Regions from separate parts of the Homo sapiens genome. Here all the other regions are linked to region 1. Evidence: promoter capture Hi-C in 16 types of primary human blood cells and fetal thymus (Javierre and others, 2016). All regions are on one chromosome and are shown on one strand. The core of a region is centred on a gene start or on the middle of the fragment in contact, and the rest is flanking DNA. Distances in the headings are between cores, read along the strand shown. Region 1 holds the start of FEM1C (fem-1 homolog C). Region 2 overlaps SLC25A46 (solute carrier family 25 member 46). Region 3 has its middle 81 kb from the start of TNFAIP8. Region 4 overlaps DMXL1-DT (DMXL1 divergent transcript). Region 5 has its middle 2.2 kb from the start of DTWD2. Region 6 overlaps EPB41L4A (erythrocyte membrane protein band 4.1 like 4A).

Region 1 (3,898 bases), core at 405-2,904:
AACACGCAGCTCGAAGAGGAGTTGAATTGGTTAAAGTCGTGTTGTTGACAGATGCTCCATGATTTAACAAGGACTGGACCACCTTCAGATGTCCTGCTGCAGAAGCGGCCCATAAAGGGGGAGCCCCCTCAATGGTTTCGCCATCAAAATTGACGGAGCCCCCAACTTCTATGGAGGCACTGCATTGCTCTAGGAGGAATTCCACCATGTCAAGGTGCCCATACCTGGCGGCCATCAAGAGTGGCGTGGCCCCATTTGTTTTTTCAGAGATCAAGGAGGAAACCTCCTCTTTGGATTTGCTTGCCAACAATTTGGTGAGAAGCCGGAGTTTGCCATCCCGAGCTGCGTTAAATACTGCTGTCTTTAGATCCATTTATGTCCAGTTGAGAGGCTGTGCTTTATTTATCTTTCAAAGCAGAGCTCCAGTTTAACTCTATCGACACAGGCAAGAGTCACAGGAACCAAAGTCCAATGTTAATTGCTGCACCCCAGAACGGATACACAACCACGAAGAGTATGTTCCGTCCTACTGCTTTCCAACATCTGACAACCAGGGCACCAAACTAGAGAAAGAAAAAAAAAGTAGCAGCATTTAATTTTCTATAGAAGAAGGCAAAACACTTCTTAATTTCCACTTCTGTGGGAAGAAAGGAATAAAAGCTATACTTCAGGCACTACTCCATCCCACACACCCCCCCCACCCCCAAAGAAAAGGTGGTAAAGAAAAATACAGAAGGATACACAGAGACCCAAATGTTCTGGTCGCAGGCAGTCTCCTCCATGTGCGGAAAATTTAAACACTACAGGCAGCCCGTTTTCTCGCCTCCAGCTCTAACCAGCCAAGCTTTGTTCTAGTTTTGCTTTGCACACGCCCAGGGAGAGTACAACCGAAAGAGGCAGGAGACTCGGGTTCAGAAATGTTTCTCTTTCTTGCAACTGCAGGAGAGCTGGCCAAGGGCGCCAGGCTGGAAGGCCTGAGGCCGGGTTTCGAGAAAGAACAAAAAGGTCGGACACACCAAACCCCGGCTAAGGCCAAAACTGTGCCCCGAAAGATTCTCTTTCCTTTAAAACTACTCACGGCTCTCAGGAAATCCGCCTGCCTTTTAGTCATTAACTTCGCCCGCCCCATTTCGATCACCCCCCACCCCCCGCCAAGGGATGATCCGCAGGTTCCTCAAACCACAGTCGCCCCAACACAACCTTCCCCTCTCCCTGTTCCAGACAACGGCAGCCCCCTCCCAATCTCCTCCATCGACCACAACCCCCTCCCGATGGGCCAAGCTGTGGCCTCCAGCCCGCTGCCCGCCTTCGGCTCCCCCGGCGCCCTCCTTCCCGCCCAGGCCTTCCGCGGGCACCTCAGGCCCCGGCCCGAGCCCTGGCAGGCCGCTGCCGCCGCCACTACCTGCCCGGGGACTAGTCCTCCCCGCCGCCGCTGGTCACTCGGGCTTTGTCCGTCCCCTTCAAAGGGAAACCGTTGTCCCCACCGCCGCCCGGGCCGCCCTGCTCCGCCTGCGGCCGCACAGCTCCTCCATGCTCCGCGCCCCAAAGGAATGAATCCGGCCGCGCTGTTCGCCACGCCCCGCCACCCGAGCTGCCTCCCGCCCTTAGTCGGCTCGGACTGCAGCGGCTGCAGCGACTGCTGCGACGGATGGTGTAATGGGCTGCGAGCCGGGGGCCGGACAAGCCTGAGCGTCACATCACTGACTGTGCCGCCACGCCATTGGGCCGGGGGAGGGCGGCGGCCGCGGCCAGCAACAGCCTAGGCGCGGGGCGGGGCGTCGCGGCCGGGGTGGGGCGACGGGGAGGGGGCGGGGCCTGAACTACTGGGAGGACGTGCCTGCGTGCAACGCGCTGGGGGGCGGGGCGCTGCGAGGGGGCGGATCTGTGCCCATCGAAGCGGCCCGAGGCAGCTCGAGTTCTGAGATCTCGCTGGCTCTTCTCCTCTCGGATTTTCGGGGTGCTCCCTTAGGGAATCTTTCGGTCCCATCTCAGAGACCCCAGAAGGGAAGTGTATTAGTGCGTTTTCACGCTGCTGATAAAGACATACCCGAGATTGGGTAATTTATAAAGATAAAAAGATTTAATGCACTCAGAGTTCCACGTGGCTGGGGAGGCCTCACAATCAAGCCAGAAGGGGAAAGGCACGTCTTACATGGCAGCAGGCAAGAGAGGAAAATCAGAGCCAAGGAAAAAGGGAAACCCCATATAAAACAATCAGCTCTCCTGAGACGTACTCACTACCACCAGAGCAGCATGGGGGAAACAGCCTTCTTGATTCAATTATCTCCCACTAGGTCCCTCCCACAATATGTGGGAATCATGGGAGCTAAAATTCAAATTTGGGTGCGGACCAGTATTACCCTCACACACGTGAAGTCTCTCGGACTAGTCTTCCGTCCTTACTTTGGTGGGCCCTGGAAATTACCAAGCTCGTAATTACACCTCAGAACACACACGGAGGAAACTGAAATTTCAGAAAATGTGATTAGTTTTGGAGGCTGTCAAACTGACTCTCTTTCTAAAGTAGCCTCTAAAAAGCATAAAGGCTACGAGGAATGGTAAACCCTAAGAGCAATGTAAAGTCAATGAGGTCAGGTTCTTGAGCTCTGAGTAATAAATCGGGAACTAAAGCTTAAAAGGTTATATATATGAATGAAAAGAATTACTTCTTCATATAGTAGTTGATAAACCTCTGGAATTTGATGCTAAAACCTACGTTGCATTAAACTAGGATGAAAAAGTTTAAATGTGTTTGGGAAATAACGCCCATAATGAATCCTGATGAGAAAACAGAATTTTTGAAAATGGACCTTCAATCACTTTGTTTGAGGGAACTTAAGCTCACATAATTCCTTAGTACCACTAGGAGAAATAGAATATTACAGTAGGCAGTCTGACCCTCAGCATATGTAATCCATAACGTTATGTTAGAAGTCATGCAGCACTAAAAACATTTATAAAAAATCACAACTTCATTTTTGTATATTGTAGTGTTGTTCAGAAGTTTATGTAGTTTTGCATAATTGAAATAATTTTCATACAACTATATATTTTGCTTTTCCTTTCTATACTCTAAACGTTTCTTATGTTTTTACAGTCTTAATAATTTTTAAGTATAGCATAGTATTTCCCTTAGGTAGTCAGTATCAGACTACACTCAACATCAGATTCCCAAAACTGAAGTTAAGGTAATTGCCACTGAGAAGAAAATATAAAAGAATAGAGTATAAAGGATAAGATTGACCATCCATAAAAATTAACCAGCCAAGAGGACTGGCTGTTTTATCCCCAGCATATGTCACAGTTCTATACTCTCCCAGGGTACAGATAACAGTGTACAGTGTCCCAACCAAGGCCTAACCTGAGCTGACCTGTCTCTCTCACCTAATTCAATAAGATGTAAACATTCACATCAGCCATCTTCAAACTGAGCTCTGTATCCCTCATGGGATTGTTAAGGGATAGACGGACACTTAGTTTAAAGGCTACCAATTTCTGCTGTGGCTCACACCTGTAATCCCAGAACTTTCGGAGGCTGAGACAGGCAGATTGCTTGAACCCAAGAGGTCGAGACCAGCCTGGACAACATGGTGAAATCCCAACTCCACACACACGCACACACACATGCACGCACACGCACACACACACAAAAAATTAGTCAGGCATGGCATGCAGGAGGCTGAGGTGGCAGGATCACCTGAGCTGAGCTGGGGAGATCAAGGCTATAGTGAGCCATGATCACACCACTGTGCTGCAGCCTGGGCCACAGAAGGAAACTCTGTCAAAAAAAAAAAAAAAAAAAGGCTACCAGTTTCTGAATCTTCAATTTACACCTACGTTCTTTCCTAAAATTGATCTGCTGGTAAAGGAATATGGTCAAGGTGTCTCATTTCCCAAC
Region 2 (3,898 bases), core at 1,029-3,528, 4.8 Mb before region 1:
CTCCGGGCGGGCTCGCGTCATCCTGCCCCCGCTGCGATGCATCCGCGGCGCCCGGACGGATTTGATGGCTTGGGCTACCGGGGTGGTGCCCGGGACGAGCAGGGCTTTGGCGGCGCCTTCCCTGCAAGGTCCTTCAGCACCGGGTCGGACCTGGGCCACTGGGTGACGACTCCCCCAGATATCCCCGGCAGCCGCAACCTGCACTGGGGCGAGAAGAGCCCGCCCTACGGCGTGCCCACCACCTCCACCCCGTACGAAGGCCCCACGGAGGAACCCTTTTCCAGTGGCGGCGGCGGCAGTGTGCAGGGGCAGAGCAGTGGTGAGAAGCATGGGGACCGACACAGGGATGAGGGGTTACTGGGGCCGCGGCTTGCGGCCTGCAGACCCCGGAAGCGGCGCAGAGGATCCCGCCTCCTATTCCTTCTCATCCTATCGCGCGCCACACCCTTTGCCCTCCTTTGGTCCTCTGCCCCTGAGGCTGGCCTCCTCTTCCTCACAAACGAATTCTCCTGGATCAACTCCAAAAAAGACATCTGCCTTAGCTATGGGGTGCATAGCAGGAATTTTTAGAGGTTTTGGTGTCTCAACTGATGGTCTGAGTTAAAAAGGAGATTGGATTATTAACTGTTCCCTGATTCACTTTGGCAGCTCTATTTTCTTGATTTAATTAATTAATTAATGTGTTTACTTGTAGTTTTGTGTTCTGAAAAGAGAAGCCTTTCAGCATAAGCATACTTGGGTTCAAACTTGGTTGTGCCACTCGTAATCTGAACAACTTAACCTCTGTGAGCCCTCAGTTTTCTCATCTTTAAGATGTGTAGAAGAATCCTGTATGGGACACATAGGCTAAAAAAAAAAAGTTTCCTTCCTTTTCCTTTTTGAACACAGGAGTTTTGTCTGCTTTTCAGATCCCCAGTCTAGAAAGTTTCCTTCCTATAATTTTCCTTTCTGCTTTCCTTCTGCTGACCTAAAAACTACATATAAAAGTTAGAAACACTGATACAATTTCAAGATAGGACTTCGGAATCATGACATAATTATTCTCCATGGGATGTCAGAAAAGCTGCAACACTGCATGATGTAGATATTTTCAACATCCTTTTTTATTCATAAAATGTGAATAATGGCTACCTCTTTCTATTCTTCTGGAATTGTTAGAATAATAGATTAATGGTATTAATATTAAATTTATTGTAGAAATCAGCTTTATTCTTATTTCCTCGACTTTGACTTGGAAGTACAATAATATTTAACTAAGAAGAACAGACTAACGAATGTCTAGTGAGTAAATGAGGATGTGAAGAAAGATAGATGACTTACCTAGCTAATTGTCATACAATTAGCTTTTTGACTCTTCCCGGTTTAAAGTTATGCTTTGGTGGTTACAATGAGGAGGAGTTCCTTGACACAAGCAGGGGTTTATTTTGCAGCCTTAACAGGTGGGTGAATGTTAATTTTGCAACAAAGATAGACACCTAAGAGACTTACACAGTAAACAAGATTAAACCTTCCTAACACCTTCCAGAAAATGCTAGTAGCATTTTCTGTTGCTATTTGGGGATGATCTATACATACAAAATGGGTAAGGCCGGGCGTGGTGGCTCACGCCTGTAATCCTAGCACTTTGGGAGGCCAAGGCGGGCGGATCACGAGGTCAGGAGATCGAGACCATCCTGGCTAACACGATGAAACCCCGTCTCCACTAAAAAATAGAAAAAATTAGCCGGGCGTGGTGGCGGATGCCTGTAGTCCCAGCTACTCGGGAGGCTGAGGCAGGAGAATGGCGTGAACCCGGGAGGCGGAGCTTGCAGTGAGCCGAGATCGCGTCACTGCACTCCAGCCTGGGCGACAGAGCGAGACTCCGTCTCAAAACAAACAAAAAAAGGTAAAATCTAAGGTAAAAGTACCGTAGGTGGGTAAAAGAAGCTTTCTATTTAGCTTATACATTTTTCTAGGGTAAACTGCGTAATTTCCCAGGAACATGCTTAGGTGGCCTTGTTCTGATTGAAAGGGAATAGTGAGGGCAGTTGCTTCACTTGAAAGAGAAGAGGAGAGAAAGAATTGTAACTTGTGAATATTGTATTATAGTTAGAATTTGATGTCTGGTCCCCTGGGGTTGTAATAGTTCACCACTATGACTTTGAGTTTAGTCAAGAAGAAAGGCTTTTCTCTTTTGACATATGCATAGGAATGTTCCCAGCTGTGAACTTTTCCAGTAACATAACAGACATACCATCTGTAGTAGCATTTAGGTATCCAGTAACCTACTCCAATTAATTAAACAGCTAGCCTCAAACTATTTAAAACTTGAAGAGATGGGGGAGAGCTGTATTTACCCATTTTGGTTATCCCTAAGTACCCTTTCAAGTTAATAATTTAGAGGTGCTTTACTTGTAGTTATTGGTTTAATAAAGTGCTCTCCGTCAGTAACAGTGAATAACTAGTTTTACAGCATAAGAGGTAAAGTCGCAGGTGGAATATCAGCTGCGGCCAACCATGGAAAATTTTTTATTTGATTGGAATCAGAAGCTGAAAACTGGTAGCCCTTAGGTTCTGTCCGGATATTTGTTTCATTAGGCCAAGACAATGTGTTAACAGTTTTTGAAATAGTTGTCCAGGACTTTAAAATTGGAAGCTTTTATATAAAATGAGAATATCTTTTTTTGAAAAAATTACAACTTCAAAACCCTGGGCCCACACTCTAATGTGGCAACAATGAATTGGAGTGAAAGCGTAATTGTGCTTTAAACACTCTACACCTTGCAATTTGCCACAGACCCCAGCAGAGTCCTTCATTCATTTAAATTATTTACCTGGCCCCTATCAGAATTTGACTTTGAGGTTTAAATGAACAGCAGGTTAATAAAATAAATTTTTTAAAATTGTTTTGAGACTAAACCTAAATTGTCAGTAATTGGTTATCAGTAATCTTATTTTTTTATTTCTATTTTTTTTTACTTTAGAACAGCTGAATAGATTTGCTGGATTTGGTATTGGACTTGCAAGGTAATGTTTTATCTAAAGACGTTTACAGCTTTTATTTATTGAATTTAGAGTTTTTCTTTAATTTACAATATTAAATGATTATTATTGCTTCCTTTAGGTTGTTTCTTTGAAGCAGCAGCTTAAATTTTGAATAATATTTTGCAGAAAAAAAATGACCATTATTTAAAATATATAATTTGATAGTTTTTCCAGTAAGGATAGACTAGTCATCCAATTTTATAAACACAAAGTAATTTTGTAATGAGTATTGTAACTGTTTTCATGGGTCTATCCAAAAAATAAAATGAAGTGTAATCTTATCTCTCTCCCATCAAAATAATAATTTAGAATGGGGTTCATGAAGATCAAATGGCTCTGCTGATAAGAACTTTTTTCATAGGACATTTTCTGAAAGAAAAATTACATGGCATTTAATGATGCCATGTAACTGACGTGTCATTTCCCACATCAAACATACAGTGATCTAGTTTCATTTTATACCGTAGATATTAATATTGTGTATTATATATTGTTTCCCTTACTTACCTGTTTGCAGATCTGGTTTTCATTCTTTTCATGGGTCTATCCAAAGAATAAAATGAAATGTAATCTGTCTGTCTCCCATCAAAAAAGTAATTGTGCATGGAGGCTTCTTTCTAAACACTCTAATGCTTACAAGATATTTAGCAACATAGCATCTAGATTTTGTTCATAATCAGCGTTTGGTGATAGCATTACTTTTTTTTATATCTAACGATCATTTTAAGAAAATCCTTTAGTCTTGATTATTGTGATCCTTAGTGAATACCATTTTCAAAAATATTGGAATTGCACAAAGCTTACATTTCATGCCATAATGATCATTATTTTAAACATTTTAACGAAGAAAAACACCTTATTTGCATAATTAAAC
Region 3 (3,898 bases), core at 1-2,500, 3.7 Mb after region 1:
ATTAAGTTCAAAATTCCACTTGTAGTTTCCTTAAACATTGGGAATAAAGATGACTTTAGTCAAGAAGTAGTTGGTCCAAATGACTTTGCTGGAATCAGCAGCTCATGTCTCAGCCCCTGCTGGCTGTGTGGCTTTGGACAATCTACTTAGCTCTCTGAGCCTGTTTCTTCACCAGAGTAAAAACTGGGGATAGTATTTATATTATAGGATTGTTGTGCAGATTAAGCCAGATGTTCCTCTCCTGTATCAGTGTGCAGAAGGCACCCATTAAGTGGAGGACTTAGTTAGATTGGCCAAATAGGTCTCATTCCAGTAAGTGTTAGTACTGAGCCACAGTGGAGTAGAGAGGGAAAGTAGTAACTTGTGTCATATGTGATTTTAGCATGAATTCTTTTTTCCTTTAACAATGCCAGAGGAGCCCAGAGAATGGGGTGAATGTAGCACAACTTCAGTGATTGCTAGCTGCAGGGTCACATGATTATATAAGGGAAATGTCACCGCTGCTGCCAAAGATAAGTGAGCCAGAGCAGGGCATTCGAGTTTTATGTGCCTGAGAACGAAGACGAGCCATAGTACCCATTAAGCTTCTCTGCATGAGGGAAGCTTTCAAAAGACCTATTACAGTTAAATTGTGAGCAGTGGGTTGGCCTTTCACAACTCCCATGTTTAAAACAGGTAGTGAATGAAACCAGATTATTTAAGACAGACAGCTGCCCTTGGTGTTGCAAAGGGAATCGGGCTGGCATGTCTTCAGGGGAAGTTGCGTGAGGTCCGGGAGGCCCAGGGCAGGGACCGCATCTGCAGGATTAGGCACCGGGGCAAGGTCTTTTGGGAACACAGTACTCAGCAAGGCACACAGTAGACTCTTGGATATTTTAAAGGAGCCAAAAAGTAAGCAACAGCTCACTCTGTCAATACCCTCTCTAAGCCTGGCTCTTACTCCTTCAACCCAAATTCATTTAGCTCAAGCCTTCCTCATTCCTAACTCTTATTTATTACTCTTATTTATCATTTGTTTAACAAAATGAGGTTTTTTGTTTGTTTGTTTGTTTGGTTTTACAACATGGCTGTCAACAAAAATAGGGGAGACAGAGATTGTGGTGTGTGCTATGTAGACCTAACTACACTCGTCTTTCCTGTCCTGAGCTCTCTTCTGACTGTGTTCAGACCCTCACACACATGCAGACACGAAAAAAAATGCCAGTCTTCTGAGAAAAAAATGCATGGACAGTGTTGGCAACAGTGCAAGTTTCAGAACAAACTTTGGTCACGTAAATCTTTGGGAAGTAAGTCCAGTACCTCATTCCATCATTCTGTGGTCAGGAAACTACTCTTTTATTTTTCCTTCTTCACTCTTTAAAGGGTTGAGATTGTTTTCTGGAAAATGGCAGGTGTTTGGTTAAATACTGTTTTGCTACACTTGAAGGGCAGAGCAGTCCTCACTTAGTGATGGAATTCCTTTTGCCTTGAGGCAGAATTAGGCTGCTAGTGACTCATGAGGTATACCTGGAAGAGGTGAGTGAACTCAGGCCTTCCCAACATCCGGTGATGACCTCTGTTTGCACACACGTAGCCACTTTGCTCCTTTGCTTTTATGACCTGGAATGACTGATAGTGCCTGAAGGAACAGGCTGCTATTACTTTTCAAGGTAAGAGACCCTGTGTAAATAGGGAGCCTCCTGAGGAAGCAAGGATTCCCTGCCCTGTGTACCTGTGGTGCTTATCACCTCCCTGGCAGGGAAGCTCTGCCCAGGTAGGGTAGTTTGAGAACATCATTATCTGGGCAGCTACAAAAGTGATACACCAAATGAAACTTTGAACTTATCCAATGTGCTGTATTTTAGGGCTCATCTGGGACTATTCCTGTGAACCTGACTGTTAAGTCAGAATCACCAGTGAAGCTTGATGCAAATTGAGAACCCCTAGCCTGGGAGACTTATGTGACTCATTTTCCTGTCTTGTTCTAGAAAGAAGCTTATTCAGGCAGCAGCTAGCTGTAGGGATTTTTTTTTAATTTTTTTTTTTTTTTTGGCAGTGGAAAGAGCTCTTGAAAGTACAGAGTGGCTTTAAAGTTTAAAGAAGATTAAAATGAACACAACATATAAAATAAACACAACATATAAAATGAACACCTATGTACCCATCTTAAGAAATAACAAAGTTGTTTTTATAGGTCTTCACTGGGTGGAAAAATATTAACAAGCAACCAGGTCAAGAACAAAAAATAACAACCAAAACAATTAGTGGTGTCCCACAAATAGATCCAGAAATTGAAGGCCATGAAACAGAGACATTGGAGAGTCTGCCCAGTGTTCATTAGTTGAAAATCTAGACTTGAGTCACCAACAATGCTGACATCATAAATCCAGTATGCCAGCTGACTTAAGGATAACTCAGGTGGTTTGTAGATACTGAACTGGGATGGGCATCCTTATTTCAACAGCGGCGCATGTTTGGAAGAGCACGGGCCCAACTCAGGACTCGGAGTTGCCAAGCGGACCGTTTCCCCTAACCCAGGCCTGTTTCCTGTCCTGAGGTCCTGGTACCTCCAGGAATCTATTCTGTTCTCAGAGTGTCCCTCTCATTTTGTAATGGTAGAAAATGAGAAAATGAAAAACAGACCATTTTTTTCTTTGAAGCCATGTTCTGTAACTTCCTCCTGCTTCTTTTGCATTTTGGGTTTTGCCAGTACTTGAGACTTCCCTTTTTCTGAATTTTAGTCAGTTTTTAATTTATCATTCTAATAGGGGCCATGGAAATTAGAATAATAAAGGTTTGCTACTGATCATAACATAGTATTAATTTTAGTAGATTGACAGCTTTTTTTTTCCCCTCTAGATTTAAATATTTGAACAGAGAATAACAGGTTATGAAACTGACTAATTCAGGTCTGGCCTCTGCCTTCCTCTGTAGTCAGCCATCCCCCAGGTTTGCTGCCCTGGAGTTGAGCACACCAGGGCCTTTCAGCCTTACCATTAGGGAAATGAGGCAGATAGAGGAGGTTGGGCAGTGACTTGCGGAGACAGGTGGCAGGGGCAGAGGATTAACCACCCAAGCCCAACAAGCATATCCACACTGAATTTTACGCTTTAATCAGTCTTTCGTTAAGTTCTGTTTTTTTTTTTTTCTTTTTTTTGAGTTGGAGTCTTGCTCTGTCTCCCAGGCTGAAGTGCAGTGGTGCAAACTTGGCTCACTGCAACCTCTAACTCCCGGGTTCAAGCGAAGCTCCTACCTCAGCCTCCCGAGTAGCTGGGATTACAGGCAAACACCACCACATCTGGCTAATTTTTGTATTTTTAGTAGAGACAGGGTTTCACCATGTTGGCCAGGCTGGTCTCGAACTCCTGACCTCAAGTGATCCACCTGCCTTGGCCTCCCAAAGTGTTGGGATTACAGGCTTGAGCCACCGCACCTGGCCTGTAAGTTCTGTTTTTTTTATGGTTGCCTTTAGTGATGATAGTGTTCTATATAAGTGTATTAGTTTTTAAGGGCTGCCATAACAAAATACCACAGACTGGTGGCTTAAACAACAGAAATTTATATTCTCACAGTTCTGGAGACTGGAAGTTCAAGATCAAGACGTCAACAGGTTTGATTTCCCTGAGGCCTCCCTCCTTGCCTTTCAGATGGCCACATTTCTGCTGTATTCTCACAAGAACATTTCTCTGTGCACAACCCTGGTGTCTCTCCCTCTTCATAGAGTGCCAGTCATATTAGATTAGGGTCCCACCCTTATGATCTTATTTAACCTTAATTGTTTATTAAAGCCTGTCTCCAAACACAGCCATACTAGAGATCAGGGTTTCAGTATATGAATTTGGGTGGTACATTTCAGTCTATAACAATCGCCTTTATAAAGGATATTAGTTGTCCTCCTTTACACAGGGAGGATCTTTTC
Region 4 (3,898 bases), core at 1,399-3,898, 3.5 Mb after region 1:
AGAATCAGTTGTAAATGTTTCTTATCAGACTTCAAGGTCTGTGTTATTAATTCCGGAAAGGTATAATGAGGTATGTCCAATCCCCACTTCCCATCATGGCCTAAACCAGTCTCTCAGGTTAAATTTTAAGAGTGCCCTGGCTGAGAAGGAAGTCCATGCGGATGGTTGGGCATCTTAGAATTTTATTTTTGGTCTACAATACATTTGTCCAAACCTGTGGAATGTATAATACAACACCAAGAGTGAACCCTAATGTAAACTATGGTCTCCTGGTGATAATGATGAATCCAAGAGCATCAGTTGTAATAAATGCACCACTCTGGTTGGGGATATTGATACTTGGGGAGGCTGTGCTTGTGTGGGAGAAGGAAATTTACAGCAAATCTCTGTACTTTACCTTTCAATTTTGCTGTACACCTAAAACTGCTCTAAAAAATAAAATACATTTTAAAAATACAGGAGGCCCAGTTAAATCCGAATTTCAGAGGCCAGGCATGGTGACTCACACTTATAATCCCAGCACTTTGGGAGGCCAACATGGTGAAACCCTGTCTCTACTAAAAATACAAAAATTAGCCACTGTGGTGGCGCACACCTGGAGTCCCAGCTACTCGGGAGGCTGAGGCAGGAGAATTGCTTGAACTTGGGAGGCAGAGGTTGCAGTGAGCGGTGATCGCTCCAGTGCCCTCCAGCCTGGGTGACAGAGGGAGACTCTGTCTCAAAAAAAAAAAAATTTGAATTTCAGACAAACAACAAATAATTTTTAGTAAGAAGTATATCCCATGCAATATTTAAAACTTATTAAAAAAATTATTCTGGGCGGGGCATGGTGGCTCATGTCTTGTAATCCCAGCACTTTGGAAGCCAAGGTGGGCCGATCACCTAAGATCAGGAGTTTCGAGACTGGCCTGGCCAACATGGCAAAACCTTGTCTCTACTGAAAATATGAAAATTAGCTTGGTGTGGTGGCATGCACCTCTAGTCCCAGATACTCAGGATGCTAAGGCAGGAGAATTGTTTGAACCTGGGAGGCGGAGGTTGCAGTGAGCTAAGATCTCACCCCTACACTCCATCCTGGGCGATAGAGCAAGACTCTGTCTCAAAAAAAAAATTATTCTGAAATAATCTGAAATTCAAATTTGACTGGGATTCCTGTATTTTATCTGGCAATCTTACTTAGGATATGTGTGGAGCAATTTTGGTGACATATTGTAAGATGGGGGACAGTGGGGAAGTGGAATGTGTGTATACTACTGGTTATGGACTAGTCCCACACAGTGAACTGTCCCACCAAATGCCAATAGTACTACTTGTGAAAAATGACAGGCTTGTTGAGGAGGATAAAAACTTTTCCTCTACCCTCTTAGGTACATCAATGGGGACCTTTCTTTTTTTTGTTTTTGTTTTTACTTTTGCTCCACACATACAGAGAAGCTTCTCTAGTAATGATCTATAGAAATTATCCCTGATAGCATAGCAATGATCTATAGAAATTAGTAATGATCTATAGAAATTATCCCTGATAGCATAGCAATGATCTATAGAAATTAGTAATGATCTATAGAAATTAGTAATCATCTATAGAAATTATCCCTGGTAGCATAGTTTTAGGGCCTTTCAATTAGTAATGATCTATAGTAATGATCTCTAGTAATGACCTATAGAAATGATCATTTCTATATTAATGATTTACAGAAATGATCTATAGAAATTATCCCTGATAGCATATTAATGATCTATATAAATTAGGTAATGATCTATAGAAATTATCCCCGATAGCATAGTTTTAGGGCCTTTCAATTAAACTGACAAAAGGCAGATTAAGACGGGGAATGAGGCTGGCTACGGTGGCTCACGACTGTAATCCCAGCACTTTGGGAGGCCGAGGCGGGCAGATCACCTGAGGTCGGGAGTTCGAGACCAGCCTGACCAACATGGAGAAACCCTGTCTCTACTAAAAATACAAAATTAGCCAGGCCTGGTGGCACATGCCTGTAATCTCAGCTACTCGGGAGGTTGAGGCAGGAGAATTGCTTGAACCAGGGAGGCGGACGTTGCAGCGAGCCGAGATCGCACCACTACACTCCAGCCTGGGTGACAGGGCGAGACTCCGTCTCAAAAAAAAAAAAAAAAAAGAAACATCCCAGGCTAATTTGTTTCAGATGCAGATACCCAGGCTCTTGGCCTCCTGCGCATCTGGGAGAATTCCAGGAAGAGTTAGCCACTACTACAAAAAATCTGCAGTCCTCCCAAACTCAGTAGAATCTAAAACACAGAGCTACCTTAATCAGATTTATTTTCATAACCAGGTTCATGTTTTGGTTTTTGAAGTTTTGCTTGCTATTCAAGTGTGCTACTCACATCTCAAATCTTTGTTCTCAGCTTCTCAGCTTTGTGAGTTTAAATGAAATCTGTTCATATCTGACGTTCCTCAAGCAAATATTTCTTGGTTTTATTATCCTTTTTCCCAATGAATAATACAGCAGACAGTTTGGTTGCCTATCCAACAGCCATTTCCAGCCCCTCCTTTCATGCACTTCTTTTTCTAAGGCTAAAAAACCTAATTTTTCACTTCGCCATCCACCCTTGAAACTAGGGGTTTGCAATGTGGCCCACTTCTGGCCATTGATGTATAATAGGAAGTTTGCTTGGTAACTTCCTAGAAAGATTTTTCTTCCTGATAAAAGAAAAGTAGAAAGTGAGAAGCATGCCTTTTTCCTTCCCCACCTTCCTGCTTTTCTGTATGTTGTGTGGTGAGAACAAAACATTTGGTGCTTCTATAGCCAATGTGTGCCCATCAGGGGTAAGCCTACACTTTGCTGCTGAACAATTCTGGAACTATCTTTATTGTATGACTCAATTGTATGTCTTTATTTTTATTTTTATTTTTCAGAGATGGGGTCTTGCTATGTTGCCCAGGCTGGTCACAAACTCCTGTCCTGGGCTCAAGGGATCCTCCTGCCTCAGCCTCCTCTGGCATACATAGCTGGGAATATAGGCACATGCTACAACCTAATAATAAATATTTATAAAATATATATTTAATAATAACATATTATAATAATATATATTTAATAATAAATATTTTTTATTTAAGCCACTGCTAGTTGCCTAGTCTGTTATGTACAGCCTAACACATATAATATAAATATTATTTATGCATTTGAATATTTAATATAGCCATCATGTTTGCATTTGTTGATTAGTAAATATATGGTTACACTTCATTTGTTCCCTTTCTGGAATGACTGCTAGAAAGTTGAACAGGTTGTATGGAAACCTTTGGAGCAATCTAATATTTCAATTAAAAAGGAAGAGAGAAACATACAGACTACTACATTCACTCTGTATAGAAACATCATTAAAGAGATCCATAACCAGGAATTGCCATCGTAATATGAATGTGACTTTTAAACCCAATACTTTCCTAATTCTAGTCCATCTCTTACATTCTCTGCTGTTTAAAAATAGCTTTATTGAAAGATAATTCACATACTATACAATTCACAGTTCCTCTTTGAAAAGAATTTGCATCCTACTTTGTAGAATGAAGACTATCAAGTTTAACCTTTCTGACTAGATAGTCTCTATCTCTACATTTACCATGTCCAAGACCAATCCCTCCACCCTTGATTCCTTATCTCCTCTGTGTTTACTCCATCAGGAGTCTTTAGTGTCCTTCCATTTATATAAGGAGCTACTTCTTAGATAGGCCTTTCCAAAGGAGGCATAGCAGTGGGGTGTGACACAAATGGGGTTAGCTAAGGCCTGTGGTCAGACAGTAAGAGGTCTGTGCAGGGCAAGATTACTGACTAGACCCAGGCAGCAGGGCTTGGCAAGTTTAGGAGACCAAACAGGCTTTAAAGCTTCTTTTAAAGGTAGCAATCAAGGTCAGAGA
Region 5 (3,898 bases), core at 1-2,500, 3.4 Mb after region 1:
GTTAAGTAGCGTCATTGGGAGAGGTAAGGGAAACCTCCCCGAGAGGACCCCAGTACCAAGCCCGAATTTAACTCCTTTAAAAGTTAAAATAAAATGGAATTCTGCATTTTCCGCCTTGGGATGGCAGTTTAAGAATTTGCAGGATTTCCACGCGTGCATGCATCGCAGGTGCGGCAGCTGATGCACTTATTATTTAAAGGCCAACAAAGGAGAGGTTATATCCACTGGGAACTACTCACAGCTGGTCCGTTTCCTTATGTGAATTTCCTGCTCTTCTATGTCTTGTGCTAATAAGACATCAAGCATGCTATTTTACACTGGACACCAGATATTTGTTAAATTAGATTTTTAGATCGTCCCCGATCAGGAAGCAATAGGAGAGCTGGCCCGGGGTACCAATAGGTTTTATGTATGAGGAAACAAGCCCTAGAAAGGTAACGTTGCCCAGGTATTTAACAACTACTGGATACGGCGGTATATAGCACAGCAGCTGTTTTTTAAAAGCCAAAATGAAATCTATGTTAGAATGAAGGCAGAAATACTATTTACCCAAAATGGGTATCGAATTCCTTTTGTTTATTAATGCTTTGTGTTACTTCCAGCAATACACAACATTAAAACAGAATTAAGCTTGGTTTTGATCAATCATGTGAATTAAGCTTAGGAATCACAGTTGTCTTAACTCTATAGTTGTAATAGATTAAATGTGAGGCAAAGTAGACAACACAGTAATAGAGCAAATACTGTATTTCTTAAAATGTTTATTTCACATTAGATTTTTCAGTCATCTTAAAATCAAGTTTGTGAATAAAATACCGTGCTGTTTTCAACTATCCTACGTTCTTTCCCCCCGGAAACAGCACCTCTCTTTTCCTTTGGAGCGTCCTATGTGAGGGATAGAAAAAGGCTGAAACACCCACCTGGTGATGGACGTAGAGTGGGAGAAAGAACTAGCAATTATGCCATTTGGAATCGGAGGATAAACAAAATCCAGAAACTGTAGGAAAGGAGATGAATCAGAAAATTCATCTTGTCTGTAGATTTAGGTTGGGGAACCAATTCTTTAACTGCCAAAATTAAATTCTCATGTGACTTATCTTTAAACGAAAGGAAGCTGCTCATCTTTAATTTCAAGAGGTGAAATGTGCTCAAGTCCTCTAAGGTCCCTTGAGACTCCCAATTGTGTGGTGTGAGAAGACAGATGATAAGGAAAAAAAAAAAAACTTTTTATCTAAGGAATGCGAGCAGTCATGTCTCACTCTCCCTTGAGCTAAATAATTACCTCTTGAAGGCACTTGCTATGCAGGCCCTAGACTGACACCGAGTAGCCATAAAACGCCGTATACCCTATAGTTCAACAATATGTATAGCCAATCACTAACCAATGTTATTTCTGTAAATAAATGACACTTCCTGAGACATAGCTTTTGTAATGCCCCCCTCTGCTGATTCGTTCTCTTTTCTTTAAAAACTCCAGCCCATTTTGTTCTCCAGAGCACTCTCCACAGCAACCTGGAAGTACGACCTAGGCTACAGTCCTCAACGTTGGCCCAAATAAACTCTCTATATTAATTTTGCCTCTGCTCCTTCCTTTTAGGTTGATGTGAGCCTACTTACTTGGGGCTTCCTTTTAACACCCCATATCAGATTATTGGCTTTACCCTTCAAAGTATTCAAAATCCAAACATTTATCTCACCTACTACTTCTGCCCTGGTTCAAGCCCCCGTCATCTCTTGCATAGAATATTGCCAAAGACCTAAGTGGTCTCCTGCTCCATCTCCGCTCCTTATGAAGAAAATCCCCTACAAGTCCATTGTCTCAGAGGCTGACCAAAATCAAAGAAAGCTTCCATCCAGGCAAGACACAGAGTTGAGAAAGGAGAGCCATTTTCCTCTATAGGAAGCAAGAAATTCACCCAATATCCAGGTTTGTGAACAATGACCTTCAGACGCCTGAGGAAACATGCAGGTGAGGTTACCACCTTGGGGCAGACCCAGGTATCAGACCATCAGTGACTCAGCTTCTGGGAAGTGCCAAGACACCAGAAAGGGAAGTAAAATATCCTTTATGGGATACAGACAACTTACTAGTGTCAAGATAATGTATTGAGGTGTTAATGTATGTTTTGTTTATCTCCCAACTTCAGGTAGAAAACCAGACTTTTATGCTCCTTTGCCTCAGAGGAGTTTGGGTAGTAAAGACTGAGGACAATCTTAGGTCCACGCCTGGTGTTGTGGGAAAAGGAGATCCTGTTACTGGTAGAGGAAAGGGCCTCAGTAATGTAAGGGATTGAATATCCTGCCAGGCCTGCAGTATGAGGATTCAGCATTGTATAAGATTTGATTTAAATGAAATAAAAACATGGTATTTTTTGCTATATTCATTTTCTATCACTGTGGAACTAATAACCACAAATTTAGTGGCTTTTTCCTTTGTTTTTTTTTTTTTTTTTGAGATGGAGTCTCGCTCTGCCGCCCAGGCTGGAGAGTAGTGGCGTGATCTGGGCTCACTGCGACCTCCGCCTCCCGGGTTCAAGCAATTCTGCCTCAGCCTCCCGAGTAGCTGGGACTACAGGCTGCGTGCCACCATGTCAGGCCAGTTCTTTTTTTTTTTTTTTTTTTTTTTTTTTTGAGACGGAGTCTCGCTCTGTTGCCCAGGTCGGACTGCGGACTGCAGTGGCGCAATCTCGGCTCACTGCAAGCTCCGCTTCCCGGGTTCACGCCATTCTCCTGCCTCAGCCTCCCGAGTAGCTGGGACTACAGGCGCCCGCCACCGCGCCCGGCTAATTTTTTGTATTTTTAGTAGAGACGGGGTTTCACCTTGTTAGCCAGGATGGTCTCGATCTCCTGACCTCATGATCCACCCGCCTCGGCCTCCCAAAGTGCTGGGATTACAGGCGTGAGCCACCGCGCCCGGCCCAGTTCTGTATTTTTAGTAGAGACAGGGTTTTACTGTGTTGATCAGGCTGGTCTTGAACTCCGGACCTCAGGTGATCCACCCGCCTCGGCCTCCCAAAGTGCTGGGATTACAGGACTGAGCCACCGCGCCTGGCCACTTATTTTTCTTTTAAGTGAAAACCAAGTTTATTAGGCAAGCAAAAGAATAACAAATGGCTACTCCACAGGCAGAGCAGCAGCTTAGGCTACTTCATCAAGGATACTTTTTTTTTTTTTAATTATTATTATACTTTAAGTTCTAGGGTACATGTGCACGACATGCAGGTTTGTTACATATGTATACATGTGCCATGTTGGTGTGCTGCACCCATCAACTCGTCATTTACATTAGGTCTATCTCCTAATGCTATCCCTCCCCGCTCCCCTCACCCCACAACAGGCCCTGGTGTGTGATGTTCCCCTTCCTGTGTCCAAGTGTTCTCATTGTTCAATTCCCACCTGTGAGTGAGAACATGCAGTGTTTGGTTTTCTGTCCTTGCGATAGTTTGTTGAGAATGATGGTTTCCAGCTTCACCCATGTCCCTACAAAGGATATGAACTCATCCTTTTTTATGGCTGCATAGTATTCCATGGTGTATATGTGCCACATTTTCTTAATCCAGTCTATCATTGATGGGCATTTGGGTTGGTTCCAAGTCTTTGCTAATGTGAATAGTGCCGCAATAAACATATGTGTGCATGTGTCTTTATAGCAGCATGATTTATAATCCTCTGGGTATATACCCAGTAATGGGATGGCTGGGTGAAATGGTATTTCTAGTTCTAGATCCTTGAGGAATAGCCACACTGTCTTCCACAGTGGTTGAACTAGTTTACAGTCCCACCAACAGTGTAAAAGTGTTCCTGTTTCTCCACATCCTCTCCAGCACCAGTTGTTTCCTGACTTTTTAATGATTGCTATTCTAACTGATGTGAGATGGTATCTCATTGTGGTTTTGAT
Region 6 (3,898 bases), core at 491-2,990, 3.4 Mb before region 1:
ATATACAGAGGCTTGGGCTAGAAAAAAGATACCGTTAGTCCACTTACTTTTGAGACAGTTTTGGCTGCTTTCCCTCTTCAGTGCCCTGTTTTAGAACTGAGTCCTTACTGAGGCTTGTAAGATGGCTATTATGGGAGGTGAGAGTGTTACAAAATGAGGCTGAAGAGGTAGGTAAAGAAGCCAGACCACTTCAGGCTCCCTCTGGCTTTATTAAAGCAAGATAAATCCATGGTGGAAAATCAGATTTGCAAGAAAAGGTAGTTGAACTAGGTTGCTTATTGTTGTCTAGACAAGAGACCAGCTTGGACTAGTAAAATTAGTGAAATAAGATCGTTTATAGTTGGATGACAGAGCCAACTAGACGTGGTAATAGTGGAGGTGTCCATAACTGCTAGGTGTCCAGCTTGCACACTGATGAGCATAATGACCCTAGATTCAGCTGGGGAGCAGCATTTAAACAGCTGAATTTTTAAATTACCTTTGAGAAACCCAAATGGTCTTTTTGCAGTAGCACATTACTCAGTAGTCTAAACTACAGAAATAAACCTTAAGGCCATGGGTATAAATGAGATCTGCTGGTGGTAGAGGAAGAGGGCCTAGGGTCTGAAGTTTGAGAAACTCCACTAATTAATGGCAAGGTAAAGCATGATAAGCCAGAAAGGATGGTCAGTGGTAGGAGCAAAATAGGATTATATTAAAGAAGCAAAAGAATGTCCTAAAAATTCTCCCTGGGATTAAGTAACACAGTGATTGATATTAGTGGAGTAGAGGGAAAGATCCATGTTAGAGATAGCTTAAGATAGGGATTAGATGAATTGAGGGCAATGACTAAAGATACTGCTTGCAAGAAAACTGGCTGAGAATGAGAGGAAAATCTTAGTTGCTTGGCGGGAGGGGGTTTGTGGTTGTGAAAGATAGTTTTGTTTAATCTTAGTCTTAAATTTAAAACCAAGTAGCAAGGATCTAGCTGAGAGAATAATTGAATACATTAATATAGGAGGACAGACAAAGATCCTGAAAAGGCTGGGAGAAGAGCATCCAAAGCACAGGTGGAGAGACAAAAAGGTTAGGGCTGCTGGCAGCTGTGGAGAGAACTGTACGTGGTAAGGGGGAGATATAAGATGTCCTGCATAAGTATTTTCCCTGTAGATTGCAAAGTCATCTATGGAGAGGAAAGGTACAAAATAGTCACTGGGGAGAGCAGGTGAATTAGATGGCCAAGCAGGGTGGATGGATCATTTGAGGTTTGGGGTGACAGATCAACTGAGATCCACTTACACTTCTGAAAACGCAAGAACACTTTAGAAATTAACAACACTTAAAGCTTTTTACATCATTTGTAAATAACTGGTGGAACTTAACACCACAAAATAAAGTATTATAAAGAACTTTATATGAATAAAAATATATGCAGTCTGAAAGTGATGCCTCAGTCCTTTTGCATCTGGGCACTAGTTGAGAACCAGCCCAGCCCTGGGAAGACGTCCTCCCACTTGTACTATTGCACAGCAGGCTAGCTGCAGTTCAGAATTCCAGAATGTTCATCAGATGCATCTGGTCTTGGTTGTGGTGGACACAGACACAAGATAGAAATGAATGATTGCTATCCTGTTCCAGAAATGAAAATGTGGTATCAAGTGAATTTTTACAAAATACTTATTCTTCCAGTTAAAACAAAAAGGTCCTTCAGCACAACTGTGCTGTAGTTAAACCATGGCCTATAATCCCAGCACTTTGGGAGGCTGAGGCAGGCGGATCACTTGAGGTCAGGAGTTCGAGACCAGCCTCCAACATGGCAAAGCCCTGTCTCTACTAAAAATACAAAAAGAATTAGCCGGGTGTTGTGGTGCACGCCTGTAATCCCAGCTGCTCGGGAGCCTGAGACAGGAGAATCGCTTAACCCAGTAAGTGGAGGCTGCGGTGAGCTGACACGGTGCCGCTGCACTCCAGCCTGGGCGACAGAGTGATAACATCTCAAAAAAAAAAAAAAAAAGAAGCAAAAGATAATGTATTTTCTCATGCTGAAGAAATACTTGCAGGTCTGAGATTTGAATTAAGATACCTATTTCACAGTTTCAAAAGTACCAGTGGCGCACACAACCTTCCCACCCCTACCCTTGACCCTTCATCAGGATCAAGTCTCTGTCTTGAGGCGGGAAGCTTGTATAGTTTTTATTGTTTTTGCTGTGTGTTTTCCAGCCAGGTTGTTTGTAGATGTCTGAGGTTTTTCTTCCATCAGGCTATCTTTAGACCCATTTCTTCTCTAAAATATATTTGAAAAATGTAGAAAGATTCAGAAGAAAACAGCCAAATGAAGTATTTTAATTACATCAGAAACCAAGCTGCTCTTAAATTTAAGATACTGAGTTAATTCAAAAGTTTCATAATACCAAAAGCTATTCAATAAATGTTCCCTCTAAATAGCTGTGCAAAATAAAGTTTGTATTTAAACTTTAATATACAAAGTTAGTCTGACATTTACATGCATAACGATTTTATTCATGAATATTAGGCATAATTCACCCAAATCAGTGTCATTACTTTTGTTAACAATTCCCAAACCAGGCTCTCAACCTCACTCTTCCAAACAGGATAGTGATGGAGACTTGGAGGCAATTTATAATCCCCTGATTATATTTTCAGTAGTCAATGAATGGAACAATGTCTTGTGAGCCCCTATCACTTGTCTCATACGGAGAAACAGGGCAGCTCATTACCAGAGCCTGGGCACCACATCCACTAGTTTGTAAAACTTAGGTTTTACACATCTCCCATCATCACTGGTGGAGGCTCTGAGAATGACACTAACTCACAACTACTACTTCTTATGCGAACCCCTCCTCCTCTTACTTCCAAGGATGGTCTAACATTGTCAGTGTATCAGGCTGGCAAGCATATTTCCTTCCCCAAATGTATATTCCCATAAATAATGGGCTATACCGTCCCAATCTATTTTGAGATTTGTTTGAGCTAAAAATAAATAAATCCCTCTTAAAATGCAGCTACCTTTAATCTGTTCCTATGACTGGCTTAATTTGTTTTACTGACATTCAAAAAGCACTGATGGAATAATTATTCTGCCTATCATGGGAAGCATGAACCCATCTATTTGGGATGGAAGATTTCTAGATAGCCAGAGGTGGGAAGAGAACACCAGTGAATGTGAGAGGAGAATACAGCAGAAGAATTACCAGAAAAAAAGTGCTAGGAGAGGACCTGAAATAAGTACTATGTTGTAAGTTTGTCTAGGATTGAATCTGTCCACTCTGCAGACCTTAAGAAATTAAGTTGCTATTCTTCCCCATTCTTAGCAGCCTTTGCGTGAAAAGGCAAGGTGAGGTGTAAGGCAGGTCACTGCCAGAACTCTGGTGGCATTGTGGTGGAAATTAGAACTTAAAGTTGTACCTTAAAAATGTACCTTTCCAGCTTCCACTGGTCACTCCAGCCCCTTCTCCGCTTGGCAGCCAGATGAGTGGCTTCCTTTTAGCACTTGGAATAAAACAGTAAGATCCAAACGCTTCCCACAGCCTTTAAGTCCCTGTGTTATCTGCCTTTCCCCTCAAGCTCACTGCATGTTGGTCTTTCAGCTCCTCAAATACCCAGGCCCTCTCCAGAGTCAGCATTTTCCCTACATTCCTCACTCTGATTACATCAGCCTTGCAGCCACTCACATGGCTAGCTCCTCACCTGCCAGGTCTCAGCTTTAAATGCCACTCTCTGAGATGGCCTCTGACCACCCTAAACATGTAAAGTGAGGTCACTTTGTTGCTTCTCTAGCTCAGGCATTTCTTTGTAATGCATACTCCTATTTGTTTTAACTGTTTACTTTTATGCCTCCAGGTCTAGGCTAGGGTCATCAAACTTTTTTATAAAGAGCCAGACTGTAAACTACATCCTG

What was found. Contacts are between HindIII fragments. The CHiCAGO score rates a contact against its expected background, and 5 or more counts as called.
Region 2: a fragment that was not itself captured here is called in contact with the fragment with the promoter of FEM1C in region 1 in 4 of 17 cell types (activated CD4 T cells, total CD4 T cells, fetal thymus and 1 more); the score reaches 9.7 in activated CD4 T cells.
Region 3: a contact is called between a fragment that was not itself captured here and the fragment with the promoter of FEM1C in region 1, in 2 of 17 cell types (fetal thymus and monocytes). The highest score is 12.5, in fetal thymus.
Region 4: a contact is called between a fragment that was not itself captured here and the fragment with the promoter of FEM1C in region 1, in 1 of 17 cell types (M0 macrophages). The highest score is 7.5, in M0 macrophages.
Region 5: a fragment that was not itself captured here is called in contact with the fragment with the promoter of FEM1C in region 1 in 6 of 17 cell types (non-activated CD4 T cells, naive CD4 T cells, fetal thymus and 3 more); the score reaches 9.7 in non-activated CD4 T cells.
Region 6: a fragment that was not itself captured here is called in contact with the fragment with the promoter of FEM1C in region 1 in 3 of 17 cell types (non-activated CD4 T cells, total CD4 T cells and naive CD4 T cells); the score reaches 7.7 in non-activated CD4 T cells.

Annotation. Positions count from the first base shown.
Region 1 is chr5:115,543,121-115,547,018 of GRCh38, forward strand. It overlaps FEM1C (fem-1 homolog C), which reads right to left and starts at 1,655. Exons shown (of 3, transcript NM_020177.3): 1 at 1,403-1,655; 2 at 1-563. The coding sequence starts at 373. RefSeq lists enhancers at 1,204-1,970, 1,512-1,806 and silencers at 1,236-1,405, 1,456-1,505, 1,606-1,945. The HindIII fragment of the contact is 1,787 bases long and covers 843-2,629 here.
Region 2 is chr5:110,739,084-110,742,981 of GRCh38, forward strand. SLC25A46 (solute carrier family 25 member 46) reads left to right here. Exons shown (of 8, transcript NM_138773.4): 1 at 1-319; 2 at 2,964-3,006. The coding sequence starts at 37. Among named protein-coding and RNA genes, the nearest start is that of SLC25A46, 2.0 kb to the left of the region's middle. RefSeq lists enhancers at 1-16, 1,261-1,762, 1,763-2,262. The HindIII fragment of the contact is 709 bases long and covers 1,925-2,633 here.
Region 3 is chr5:119,273,000-119,276,897 of GRCh38, forward strand. It overlaps a transcript of TNFAIP8 not described here. Among named protein-coding and RNA genes, the nearest start is that of TNFAIP8, 81 kb to the right of the region's middle. RefSeq lists enhancers at 527-616, 737-786, 861-1,360, 1,783-1,832. The HindIII fragment of the contact is 1,298 bases long and covers 602-1,899 here.
Region 4 is chr5:119,056,269-119,060,166 of GRCh38, forward strand. All of the region lies in intron 1 of DMXL1-DT (DMXL1 divergent transcript), which reads right to left. Among named protein-coding and RNA genes, the nearest start is that of DMXL1-DT, 13 kb to the right of the region's middle. The HindIII fragment of the contact is 2,432 bases long and covers 1,433-3,864 here.
Region 5 is chr5:118,988,761-118,992,658 of GRCh38, forward strand. No RefSeq gene overlaps it. Among named protein-coding and RNA genes, the nearest start is that of DTWD2, 2.2 kb to the left of the region's middle. The HindIII fragment of the contact is 1,187 bases long and covers 658-1,844 here.
Region 6 is chr5:112,162,856-112,166,753 of GRCh38, forward strand. It overlaps EPB41L4A (erythrocyte membrane protein band 4.1 like 4A), which reads right to left. Exons shown (of 23, transcript NM_022140.5): 23 at 1-2,263. The coding sequence ends at 2,135. Among named protein-coding and RNA genes, the nearest start is that of SNORA13, 3.3 kb to the left of the region's middle. RefSeq lists enhancers at 2,609-3,286, 3,287-3,898. The HindIII fragment of the contact is 836 bases long and covers 1,323-2,158 here.